2 separate regions of the Homo sapiens genome follow, and region 1 is linked to region 2. The links are contacts of gene promoters, found by promoter capture Hi-C in blood cells and fetal thymus (Javierre and others, 2016). All regions are on one chromosome and are shown on one strand. The core of a region is centred on a gene start or on the middle of the fragment in contact, and the rest is flanking DNA. Distances in the headings are between cores, read along the strand shown.

Region 1 (6,482 bases), core at 2,224-4,723, 2.0 Mb before region 2:
CCTGCTGGAACCCATATAATGAAGTTATATTTTACCCTATGGTGAGTATGGGGAGACACATAGGAATTGTAAGAAAGAGAGATACTGATCAGATTTGCTTTTCAGAAAGATTATTGGTGATGATTCGAAGAATAGATTAGAGAGGTGTAATACTGGAAGCAAGGAGAAGAAGAAGTAGGAAACTTGCACAAGGACCAAAGAAGATACAGGCTTAAAATGGGCTGGGAGGAGTAGAGAGGGATTTAAATTTTAGTGATGTTAAAAAAAAAGAATTCTAGCACTCAGTCACTGAGTGTTAGGGTTGATGAAGGAAGAATTGAGAATGTCTCCTAAGCTTATGACTTGAGTGACAAGGGACAAGCTGGTACAATTAACCATACTGGTAATAAAGAATTAATTTTGAGGGAAAGATAGAGTTCACTTTTGGACATTTAGAATGCTGGGAAGATACCTAAAGGTTTATGCCCAAGAGATAGATATAGTGACCTGGAGCTACATTGTCTGATAGAATATTCTGTGATAATAGAAACGTTTCATACTTATGCTGTCCGATGTGGTAACTAGTAGCCGTATGTGGCTTTTGAGCATTTGAAAATGTTGCTAGTGTGACTGAGGAACAGAATTTAAATTGTATTTAATTTTGATTTAGTTAAATACTCACATATGCTGCTTTATTGAACAATGCAGGTATAGAGCTGAGAACGGTTTTTGCACTTTTGAAGGATTAAAGAATCAAGAATATTTTGTGATATTAAAATTATATGAAATTTAGAATTCAATATGTAGAAATAAAGCCATTTTTAATTGAAACATAGCCATTCTCATTTATTTATGTATTATCTATGACTGCTTTTCTATGATAGTGTCAGAGCTGAGTAATTGTGACAGTGATTATATGGCCCACAAAAGCCTAAAATATTTGCCATCTGGTCCTTTATTTAAAAGTTTATGGGCTGGGCATGATGGCTCATGCCTATAATCCCAGCACTTTGGGAGGCTGAGGTGGGCAGATCACCTGAGGCCAGGAGTTCATGACCAGTCTGGCCAACATGACAAAACCCTGTCTCTATTAAAAATACAAAAAAAAAATAGCCAGGTGTGGTGGGCATGCCTATAATGCCAGCTGCTTGGGAGGCTGAGGCAGGAGGATTGCTTGAACCTGGGAGGCAGAGGCTGCAGTGAGCTGAGATTGCGCCATTGCACTCTAGCCTGGGCAACAAGAGTGAAACTCCATCTCAAAAAAAAAAAAAAAAAGTTTATGCTGAGGCATGGTGGCTTATGCTTGTAATCTCAGTGCTTTGGGAGGCTGAAGTGGGAGGATTGCTTGAGGCCAGGTGTTTGAGATCAGCCTGGGCAATGTAGCAAGACCCTGTCTCTATAAAAAAAAAATTAGCTGTGTGTGGTGAGGTGCACCTATAGTCCATAGTTACTCAAGAGGCTGAAGCAGGAGGTTACTTGAGCCCATGAGCTTGAGGCTGCAGTGAGCTGTGATCACACTACTGCACTCCAGTCTGGGCGACAAAGAGAGACCTTGTCTTTATAAGACAGTAAAATAGACTGGGCATGGTGGCTCCCGATTATAATCCCAGCATTTTGGGAGGCTGAGATGGGAAGATCACTTGAGCCCAGGAGTTTGAGACCAGCCTGGGCAACATGGCAAAACCCCATCTCTACAAAAATACAAAAAATTAGCCTGGCATGGTGGCATGAGCCTATAGTCCCAGCTACTCGGGAGGGTGAGGTAGGAGGATTGCTTGAGCCCAGGAGTTCAAGGCTGCATTTAGCCAAGATCACACCACTGAATTCCAGCCTAAGCTACAGAACGAGAGTCTCACATACAGACAAAAAGGAAAAATTAAAAGTTTAGCAACCCCTGGTTTACAGTTTAAGGAGTCGTTACAGCTATATACGAAGGCTTGAGAGTTGTCAGAAAATAGATGTTAATAGAAACAAAGAGGAGAGATGAGATGCCTGGAGATGCATAATGTTGATTTGTGAGGGAAAGCTTAAAAGTATGAAGCCCTGGAGGCCAACAGTTAAGAAGCAGAGGAAAAAGGAGATGGCAAAGGAAACTAAAAGTGGTTTAAAGAGAATTCAAGATAGAGAGTTGTGGAAATCAAAGAGAATAGGTGAACAGAGCCCAAACATTTTAAAATTTTTTTAGAACTTCTATGTGCCAAGAGGCTATGCTAGGTTGTTTATGTACATTATTTAAAAATTTTATGACAATCCTGTAAAATAGGTAATAGCTTACATCAGTAGATAAGTACCTAAATAAGGAACTGAAGCCAATTGAGTCTAAAATGCCATTTGCATAGGGGAGAGAAATTCAATGAAGAAATTAACAGAAGAAGGTTAAAAGAGGTCTAATAATTATTATACAAATGAAACATATGTCTTAGTCTGTATTCTGTTGCTTTTAAAAGAATACTTGAAACTGGGTGATTATCAAGAAAGAAAACATATTTCTTGGAAGTCTGGAGGCTGGGAAGTCCAAGGTCAAAGGAGGCACATTTAGTGAGGGTCTTTGTGCTGGTGGAGTCTCTGTAGAGTCCTGTAGTGGTACAGGGCATCACATGGAGAGGGAGCTGAGCATGGTAGCTCAGGTCTCTCATCCTCTTCTTATAAAACCACCAGTCCTACTCTCGTGATAACCCATTAACCTATTAAATCATGAATGGATTAATTCATTCATGAAGGCAGAGCCCTCATGCCCCATCACCTCTTAAAGGCCCCACCTCTGTCCTGCCACACTTCACTGGGGATTAAATTTCAATGTAAGTTTCAGAGGGGACAGATATTCATACCTTAGCAACACATCTGGTATATTTGAAGATTAAAGGGTAATTTATGATTTTAGCCAGAGTAGTTGCAGTGAACTTGTAGAGGCAAAAGCTATATTAGCATATTTTTGTATATTTATCAATAATGTCATTAATTTTGTTATAATCTGTTTATTTTCAAAAATCATTTTCACATGAAATTTTATAGAAAGTGAACATAGTGGTTGGGTGCGGTGACTCAGGCCTCTAATCCCAGCACTTTGGGAGGCCGAGGCAGGCAGATCATGAGGTCAGGAATTCGAGACCAGCCCAGCCAACATGGTGAAACCCCATCTCTACTAAAAATACAAAAATTCACCAGGCGTGGTGGCGGGTGCCTGTAATCCCAGCTACTCGGGAGGCTGAGGCAGGAGGATCACTTGAACTTGGGAGGTGGACGTTGCAGTGAGCCGAGATCATGCCACTACGCTCCAGCCTGGGCGACAAGAGCAAGACTCTGTCTCAAAAAAGAAAAAAAGAAAAAAAAGGAAAGTGAACATGGTATAAATTATAATGACTAATACATCATTGCATAATTCAAATCTTTAAGAATTGACTGTTAATTTTTCAAATTTAGGTTCATACTTTGGAAACAAAAGAGCTTATGCAGAAAACACAGTTGCATCAAATTTTACTTTTGGTGCAAGCTCATCTTCTGCACGAGATACTAATTATCCTCAAACACTTAAAACTCCATTGTCTACTGGAAATCCTCAGAGATCAGGTTATAAGAGCTGGACACCACAAGTGGGATATTCAGGTAAAATAAGTGGAAGATTAACCTAGATGATGTTTTGAAACTTAAAAGTTTTATAAATTATAAATTAGGGTTATTAAGTTCATTTGAATTTATCTATAACTGATATGAATGAAAAATAAATACATTAGTTTACCTCTATCCATAATTTGAGTCTAGATTAATAAGGCAACATAGTTTCTGAAATTGTTTGTTAATAAATGTAAGTCTACATTATTTTAACCATTCTGACAAAAAAACACACAAGAAAGAGAAACCTCTCCCTTTTATACATGATGGCATTTAAATCTAAAAGTTGACCCTGATATTACTAGTGAGTGGTTTTTTTATACTTAAATTTTAATTTTTATCTAAATCTATGAGATTTTCTTGAAGAGTAGATAGATAAAATAGGTTTTCATGTATAACAGTTTTCTAAGGTATATACAACAGAATTTCTTGGTTACAGGGTAAGTTATGTAAATGCATATATTTATAAGATAATGACAAATTATTTTTTAAAGTAGTTCTACCAAAGTATAAATGGTAGTTAAGTTTATATTAGATCTACAGAAGTCAGTTTTAGCTCTGTAGTAGAATATGACCTTCCTTTTTTTTTTTTTTTTTTTTTAATTTTTTGAGACAGAATCTCACTGTGTCGCCCAGGCTGGAATGCAGTGGTGTGATCTCGACTCACTGCAATGTCTGCTTTCCGGGTTCAAGTGATTCTTCTGCCTCAGCCTCCTGAGTAGCTGGGACTACAGGTGCTTGCTACCACGCCCGGCTAATTTTTGTATTTTTAGTAGAGATGGGGTTTCACCATACTGGCCAGGCTGGTCTCGAACTCCTGACCTCATGATCCACCCACCTTGGCTCCCAAAGTGCTGGGATTACAGGCATGAGCCACTGTGCCTGGCTGACCTTTTTATTTACTTTTATTTTTATTTTTATTTGTTTGAGATGGAGCCTTGCTCTGTCGCCCAGGCTGGAATGCAGTGGCACAACTTGGCTCACTGTAACCTCTGCCTCCTGGATTCAAGCAATTTTCCTGCCTCAGCCTCCCGAGTAGCTGAGATTACAGGCATGCACCACCACGCCTGGCTAATTTTGTATTTTTAGTAGAGACAGGGTTTTACCATATTGGCCAGGCTGGTCTTGAACTCCTAACCTCATGATCCGCCCACCTTGGCCTCCTAAAGTGCTGGGATTACAGGTGTGAGCCACCGCACCCAGCCCTGACCTGTTTATTTTTAAGTAGAAAATAAATACCAAGTTCCAGTGGAAATTCAATAGACATATAAAAGACATCTCTAAGGTTCTAAAAATACATTTATGCTGTTATCTCTCTGTTGTAAATAACATAATAATGAGCATCCTAATACATAAAGCTTTTTTCTGAGTCTCTTATTATTTCCTTAAAACACACCCTTAGAAGTCAAATTACTGAAACATAGGGAAATTACCTTTTTTATTTTTTTTAATTACCATTTTTTGTTTTTTTTTTTTTTTGGTTTTTGAGACGAAGCCTTGTTCTATTGCCCAGGCTGGAGTGCAGTGGCACCATCTCGGCTCATTGCAACATCCACTTCCTGGGTTCAAGTGATTCTCCTGCCTCGGCCTCCCGAGTAGCTGGGATTACAGGCATGCATCACCATGCTCAGCCAATTTTTTTTTTTTAGTAGAGATGGGGTTTCGCCATGTTGGCCAGGCTGGTCTCGAACTCCTGGCCACAAGTGATCCTCCCACCTTAGCCTCACAAAGTGCTAGGATTACAGTTATGAGCCACTGCGCCTGGCCAAAATTACCAGTTTTTAAGAATCTCAGATATATTGCCAAGTTTCTTTTGAGAACTGGACTAATTTTTAATTCCATCAATAGTGTATAAGGTAAGCCAATCTTACTCTATCCTCATCATTACTAACTTCTAAAATTTATTATGATTATTGGCTAATTTAGTAATCATCATCATCATCATAAGATTATTATTAAATTAGCCAATAATCATTATCATAATAAATTGTATTGGTTAATTTATTGGTTATTATGGTATGCTCTTATTAACAATGTGTAAGAGTCCACTTCAACATTTGATATTGTTAGACTCAATATTTTCCAACCTAACAGTTGTAAAATACTACCTGAGTTTTTTATTTTCTGAGTTTGCATTTTCCTGATTACTAGTGAGATTATCTTTTTCTGTACTTTTGGGCTATATATCTTTAATAATGGTCTGTGAAATTAATGTTCATGTCTTTTACTCATTTTTCTTTAGGCTTATTTTTCTGGATTTGTAGCAATACTTTATATATTCTGAGTAATAAATATTTTGATGACTTTTCTGTTTGGTTTTTTTTTTTTTTTTTTTTTTTTTTTTTTGAGAAGGAGTCTCGCTCTGTAGCCCAGGCTAGAGTGCAGTGGCGCGATCCCGGCTCACTGCAAGCTCCGCCTCCCGGGTTCACGCCATTCTCCTGCCTCAGCCTCTCGAGTAGCTGGGACCACAGGCACCTGCCACCACGCCTGGCTAATTTTTTGTATTTTTAGTAGACATGGGGTTTCACCGTGTTAGCCAGGATGGTCTCGATTTCCTGGCCTTGTGATCCGCCCACCTCGGCCTCCCAAAGTGCTGGGATTACAGGCATGAGCCACCGCGCCCGGCCTTTTCTGTTAGTTTCTATGTTTCTAGTTCTTTTTTAACTCTGATGGGTCATTATGTCTAGCTGTGTGCCAATATCACACCATCTTTAGCTTTATAATAAGTCTTGATATTTTGTAGGACAGCCTTGCCACCTGTACCCTCCACAAGCCACCTTACTCTTCTTTAGAGGAGTCTTGATTCTTCTTGGCCCTTTGCTCTTCCATGTAAATTTTGGGCCAATTTTTCAAGCTCCACCAAAAAACATATTGAGGTTTTGATTGAAATTATA
Region 2 (6,019 bases), core at 3,448-5,947:
ATGGACCTCTTGGCTTTCTGGTAGAGTCTGGGACCCCCTTTTCAAAGTAATGCTTCTATGTGCATAAAACAAATACATGGGATTACAAGGCAAACCAACTATATTGAAATACAGTTGCCTCCTTGGATCCTATGGAGGTCCAAGTACTCAAGTGAAAAATTTCCATAAGAGCTGGGTGCGTTGGCTCACACCTGTAATCCTAGCATTTTGGGAGGCCAAGGCAGGCGTACTGCCTGAGTTCAGGAGTCTGAGAACAGCTCAGGCAACACAGTGAAACCCTGTCTCTACTAAAATACAAAAAATTAGCTTGGCATGGCAGCATGCGCCTGTAGTCTCAGCTACTTGGGAGGCTGAGGCAGGAGAATTGCTTGAACCCGGGAGGTGGAGGTCGCAGTGAGCCGAGATCGTGCCACTGCATTCCACCCTGGGCAACAGAGCGAGACTTCGTCTCCAAAAAAAAAAAATTTTCCATAAGATTCTTAGTTCTTTCTAAGCATTACTATATTTGTCTTTCTTTTTCTTTTTATTTTTTGAGACAGAGTCCTGCTCTGTTGCCTAGGCTGGAGAGCAGCGGCGTGATCTTGGCTCACTGCAACCTCTGCCTCCTGGATTCAAACGATTCTCCTACCTCAGCCTCCCGAGTAGCTGGAATTACAGGCACGCACCACCACATCTGGCTAATTTTGTATTTTTAGTACAGATGGGGTTTCACCATGTTGACCAGACTGGTCTCGAGCTCCTAACCTCAAATGATCTGCTCACCTCGGCCTCCAGGTGTGAGCCACAGTGCCAGGCCTATATTTGTCTTTCTAACATGCCAGGAGGAAATTGAGACATGAAAAGGGTAAGTACCTTGCTGAAGACCACTGTGACATAAAAAATACATATTTGGGCCAGGCACTGTGTCTCACACCTATAATCCCAACATTTTGGGAGGCTGAGGTGGGAGGATCACTTGAGCCCAGGAGTTTGAGACCAGGCCCTGGCAACATAGGGAGACATTGTCTCTACTAAAATTTTAAAAATTAACTGGGCATGGTGGCAAGTGCCTGTAGTCCTGGCCACTCAGAAGACTGAAGCAGGAAGATCACTTGAGCCCAGGAGTTCTAGGCTGCAGTGAGCTATGATCACACTACTTCAGTGCAGCCTGGGCAATAAAGTGAGATCCTGTATCAAAGCAAGAAAGAAAGAAAGAGAGAAAGAGACAAAGAAAGAAAGAAGGAAGGAAGGAAGGAAGGAAGGAAGGAAGGAAGGAAGGAAGGCGGGCGGGCAGGCAGGCAGGCAAACGAGACAGACAGAAGGAAAAGAAACAAAGAAAGAAAAGATATATATTTGCTCTCTGTCCCCAGTCCTGACACAGAGCTCCTAAATCTCTTGGAATTTCCCGGTTGATAGGAGTGTCTTTTTTTCTAATATTCTTGTTGGGCTCCTGGATAGCTTCAGGATAGGGGCTGGTCACCAGCAAATTCAAGCTATGATTAGAAGCTTAAAAATGTTGGCCCCATACCTACCCTATCCTCTGTGGAGGAGAGAGTAGTTGAAGATTGAGTTAATAATCAATTATGGTTACATTGTCAGAGGGTTCAAACCAGAGCGACTCCGTTTTGAGTGCGGGCTAGGAAAATGAGGCTGGGACTTGCTGGGCTGCATTCCCAGAAAGTTAGGCATTTCTAGCTTCTAAACATTTACAGTTAAGGGAACAGATTGATAATGTTTACTAAACAGACCCAGACTTGGGAGTGTCCTGATGTCCCTGATACCTTGAGAGCAAAAGCATTCCTAATTTTGCTTTAAAGATAATAATATTAATTCTTGCAAAATATGGTAATTAAGAAAATTAATCTTTTACCACAAACCCTCGTAGCAGAGCACATCTTCCCATGATCTTTTTTTTTTTAACTCCTCTATAAATGAATATTGTACCTAGAGTGGATGCATTCCTCTTCTTCCTTTTGGGAACGCCCTACTCTGTCTATAGAGTAAGTGGACATTCACCACTTCACTGTCTTAAACTTGCTTTTGCTTTGGACTGTGGACTTGCCCTGAATTCTTTCTTGTGCGAAATCCAAGCACCCTCTCTTGGGATCTGGATTGGTACCCCTTTCTGGTAACAACATTATGAAGCCTCCACAGAAATCCCTGAAGTACGGGGTTCTAAGAGCTTCTGAGTTGGTGAACACATCCATATCCCAAAAAGGTCATACACCCTGATTCCATGGGGACAGAAGTTCCTGCACTTAGGATCCTTCCAGATCTTGTTTTATGTACCTCTTCATCCGGCTGTTCATCTGTATCCTTTGTAATATCTTCTGTTATAAATCAATAGACTGGTTTGGGATGGGAGGAGAAGATTGTGGGAATTCCTGATTTATAGCTGGTTGGTCAGAAGTACAAGTGACAACCTGGGATTTGCAATTGGTATCTGAAGTGGGGGCAGTCTTGTAGGACTGAGCCCTTAAGGGTTTGGTGCATAGTATTGAATTAAATTTAACTGTACAACACCCAGTTGGTAGACACTAAATTAAAGAGTGGAGTTTATAATAAGAAATAATTGGAGACTTGTTTGGTGGGGAAAAACCTCCACACATTTGGAGTCAGAAGTGTTGAAACTACAGAAAAATAGCTTTGTGTTTCTTTTCCTTTAACAATGCATCTAGTAAGTGGCCAAGAAAGGATTCAAACCCAGGCAGTCTGACTTCACAGTTTTGTTTTGATATTATGCAGATAGGATCCCCTAAATTCATTAATGGTTGCTGTAGCATGTATTGCAGTACTTGTACAGAAGAAACAACTGGTAGTACTCCATGAACTCCATTCTCTGGTTTAGTGAGCATTACACGATGGCTTGGTTATCTGGGGGAGGTACTGGCCTTCAGAATTAATCCAGGCTCCAATTTTTTTTTCCTTGTCTCCAATATCAGAAGACATTGAGTCCCCTGTCCTTCTGGTTTAAACCACTACTTGTTTGGTTTTCTTTTACTTGTAGCGAATATGTTAACTAATATATCCAATAATGGCTAAGATTGAGTGCAGTACTCTGCCAAACCAGAAGAAGGGAGGCTTACAGCAAATTACATTTGGTTTATAAACATAAATTAAATGTGATATTTCTATTTTATATATTTTATTATTATTTTGTAGAAATGAGGGTCTTGCTATTGCCCAGGCTAATCTCGAACTTCTTACCTCAAGGGATCCTCCCTCATCGGCCCCACAAAGTGTTGGGATTACAGATGTGAGCCACCTCACTTGGCCTAAATGTGACATATCTTATTCTCATGCTAAAGAATAAACTCTGTACCCACCGTGTAATACTATTTTTCTCATAATGTTTATTGTGGAATTAAGGAGATAATATGGTCTCAGGAAAGTTGTGTTGAGTGGTAGTCATCATCATTACTGCTATTCTCATTACGTTGAATGTTTGGAAGCTGTGGGAAATGGGAAAGAGGAGGAAATTGGGAAAATAAATGAAAATAGCCTTACAAATTTCAGGTTCTTCAAGTCTCAAGAGCTCCATTTACCCTATAAGTGCAAAATATTTTCACATAAAACCCAGTCTGTGGATCGTTAGTTATTATTAATCTAATAATATCATAAATTGGTACTACTATTCTATTTTCCATTTGGTTAAATGGGAATTTTGAAAACAGAATTATTTTGGCTTTTCACCACAAATATGCTCAGCAACTGGAATTCTTAAATCTGCAGTTTTTTTGTTTTGTTTTGTTTTGTTTTGTTTTTTGTTTTGAGACAGAGTCTCACTCTAGTCACCCAGGTTGGGGTGCAGTAGCACTATCTGGGCTCACACAACCTCCGCCTCCCGGGTTCAAGCGATTTTCCTGCCTCAGCCTCCCGAGTAGCTGGGATTACAGGCAGGTGCCTGGCTAATTTTTGTACTTTTAGTAGAGATGGGGTTTCGCCATGTTGGCCAGGCTGGTCTTGAACTCCTGACCTCAAGTGATCTGCCCGCCTTGGCCCGCCAAAGTGCTGGGATTACAGGCTTCAGCCACCGTGCCCCGCCTAAATCTGCAGTTCTGATGGAATGTTTTGACTGAAGACTGAACGTAGAAACAGTACCTTGGGTTTTGTTGTTGTTATTTTTTCCTAACCCGGCCCCCTATTAGTTTACTATGTATTAGAACCTGAGAGAGGTGACTACTCTGCCAATAAATTGCCACATTCAATATTCTTCGGTTGCCTAATTCAGTGGGAAACACAGAAAAAAAGGTAAAGAGGACATGAAATCAATAATAAATGCATCATCTATACCGGATTGGAATGCCTCTTAACACTCATTCATCTGAGGGCTGAGGGCCTGTGGTAGAAGTTCTTAATCTTGTTTTCAGGGTTTTGAAATTGTGTAACTTTTTTTTCTTTAATGTAATGAGCATGTGTATACACATTTTTTTTTTTCCAGGGGAAACCCTCCATAATTTTTACCAGATTGACAACCGTTCTAGATCCCCCGACAGGTTACGAACTACAATACTAGTTTTTTTTTTTTTTTTTTACCGGTTTGTAAAAGGATGCAATTCTTCGAATATAGTTTTTGCATCCACTTGACGAGGAAGGAGCCTCTACCCTAAACAAAAATGGCGGGAGCTGCTTCACACGTAGTCCCTCACGCAGAAAGCCTGGAAGGCCCCCTCCACTTTCTCTCCACCTTCGCACTCCTGACCCCGGAAGGACTCCGCCTTCTCCATGTCAGACTGCTGCTCAGCGCCAGGCATCAGCTGGGAAGCTGGCGTGGGCAGGCCAGCTGTACCTGGCCTGGAGCTCCAGGTACAGGGCCAGGGGCGGGGTGGGGTGGAGAGGCGGGCGGGAGGAAGCGGAGAGTTGAGCGGCCACGCAGTTGGGGCAGAGGCCTCGGGGCAGGGGTGGCGCGGACTCCATCGCTGGCGTTAGCTCTCGGAGTGCCAGGTGGAGCGGCGGAAAGCCAGAGGGTCTACGGCCGTGCCACCCTGAACACCCCCGACCTCGTCTCATCTCAGAAGCTAAGCAGGGTCGGGCCTGGTTAGTACTTGCATAGGAAAGCAGGAGGGTCCCCACGCCAGAGGGAGGCCTGCAAAGGAAGCGCGGAATTGGGATGGGCTCGCCACTGCTCTGAGCCAGAGGAAGGGTCTGGACGGCCGAGCTGGAGGGACCCCCTTTTCTGGTGTTCTTGGCAAAGAAAAAGGAAGACAGCAGAGGAGAGCTCCGCGAGGGGCTGCTGTGGGGTCGGGGGAGAGCGCGCTGGAGGTAGGGCAGCTGGTGAGGTCTCAGGTTCGGCTTGGATGCGGGTGGTTTTGAGCAGGGAGTGGCTTTTGGATGTGAAAGATTACTCTGCTTTGCAGGTGCTTTAAGAGAATAATTTAGCACGGGAGTATTGTGGTGTCAGGTCCTTCTGTAAAGTTGTTAAATTATCTATTTTCCAGAGGGAAGACTCAGCTTGTTTTTGCACAGGACTTTGAAACCTTTATTATTGTTGTTTTATTGTTGTTGTTATTGCAGCTAAACATGTTTGCTCTGTTCAAAGTGTCAGAGTTAGGTTATATAGATTTGTGCTTCACGTCAATTTTCTTTTTGATACTTCAGACTTTCCTTCCTGTTGGATTATAAAGTCAAAGTTGCAGGATAGAATTTTAAGATGTCTAAGAAACTGTTTATGACACTTATTTTTAATTCCCCAGTAGTTGGAATGTAGAGGAGCAAGTAATATCACACAGGACAATATTTTTGGTTATGTTTTATAGATTCCGTCTATAAATTTGAATAATCATGAAACCCCCTTCATGTTTATTTTTATTATGCTTCTGAAAGCAAATGAAATGACTAGTTTTTTGTTTTTTTTTCTTTAGTTTTTCAATGAATAATGATTAGGTTTGGAATCAACTTCCTCAGTAATATTAAATGAAAAAGAATGAGGTAGTTAGAATGCAAAAATAGAGGTTTGTCATAATATTTTTTCTTTTTTCTTTTTTTTTTTTTTTTGAGGCGGAGTCTGGCTCTGTCGCCCAGGCTGGAGTGCAATGGCGTG

Evidence for each region. The method cuts DNA at HindIII sites, captures the fragments that hold promoters and counts their contacts. A CHiCAGO score of 5 or more calls a contact.
Region 1: a contact is called between a fragment that was not itself captured here and the fragment with the promoter of MIGA1 in region 2, in 1 of 17 cell types (non-activated CD4 T cells). The highest score is 5.2, in non-activated CD4 T cells.

The regions. Positions count from the first base shown.
Region 1 is chr1:75,800,332-75,806,813 of GRCh38, forward strand. MSH4 (mutS homolog 4) reads left to right here. Exons shown (of 20, transcript NM_002440.4): 2 at 3,400-3,582. Among named protein-coding and RNA genes, the nearest start is that of MSH4, 6.7 kb to the left of the region's middle. The HindIII fragment of the contact is 2,941 bases long and covers 2,004-4,944 here.
Region 2 is chr1:77,774,952-77,780,970 of GRCh38, forward strand. It overlaps MIGA1 (mitoguardin 1), which reads left to right and starts at 4,698. Exons shown (of 16, transcript NM_001416120.1): 1 at 4,698-4,785. It also overlaps the pseudogene RNA5SP21. RefSeq lists enhancers at 686-1,210, 4,585-4,674. The HindIII fragment of the contact is 6,952 bases long and covers 1,484-6,019 here.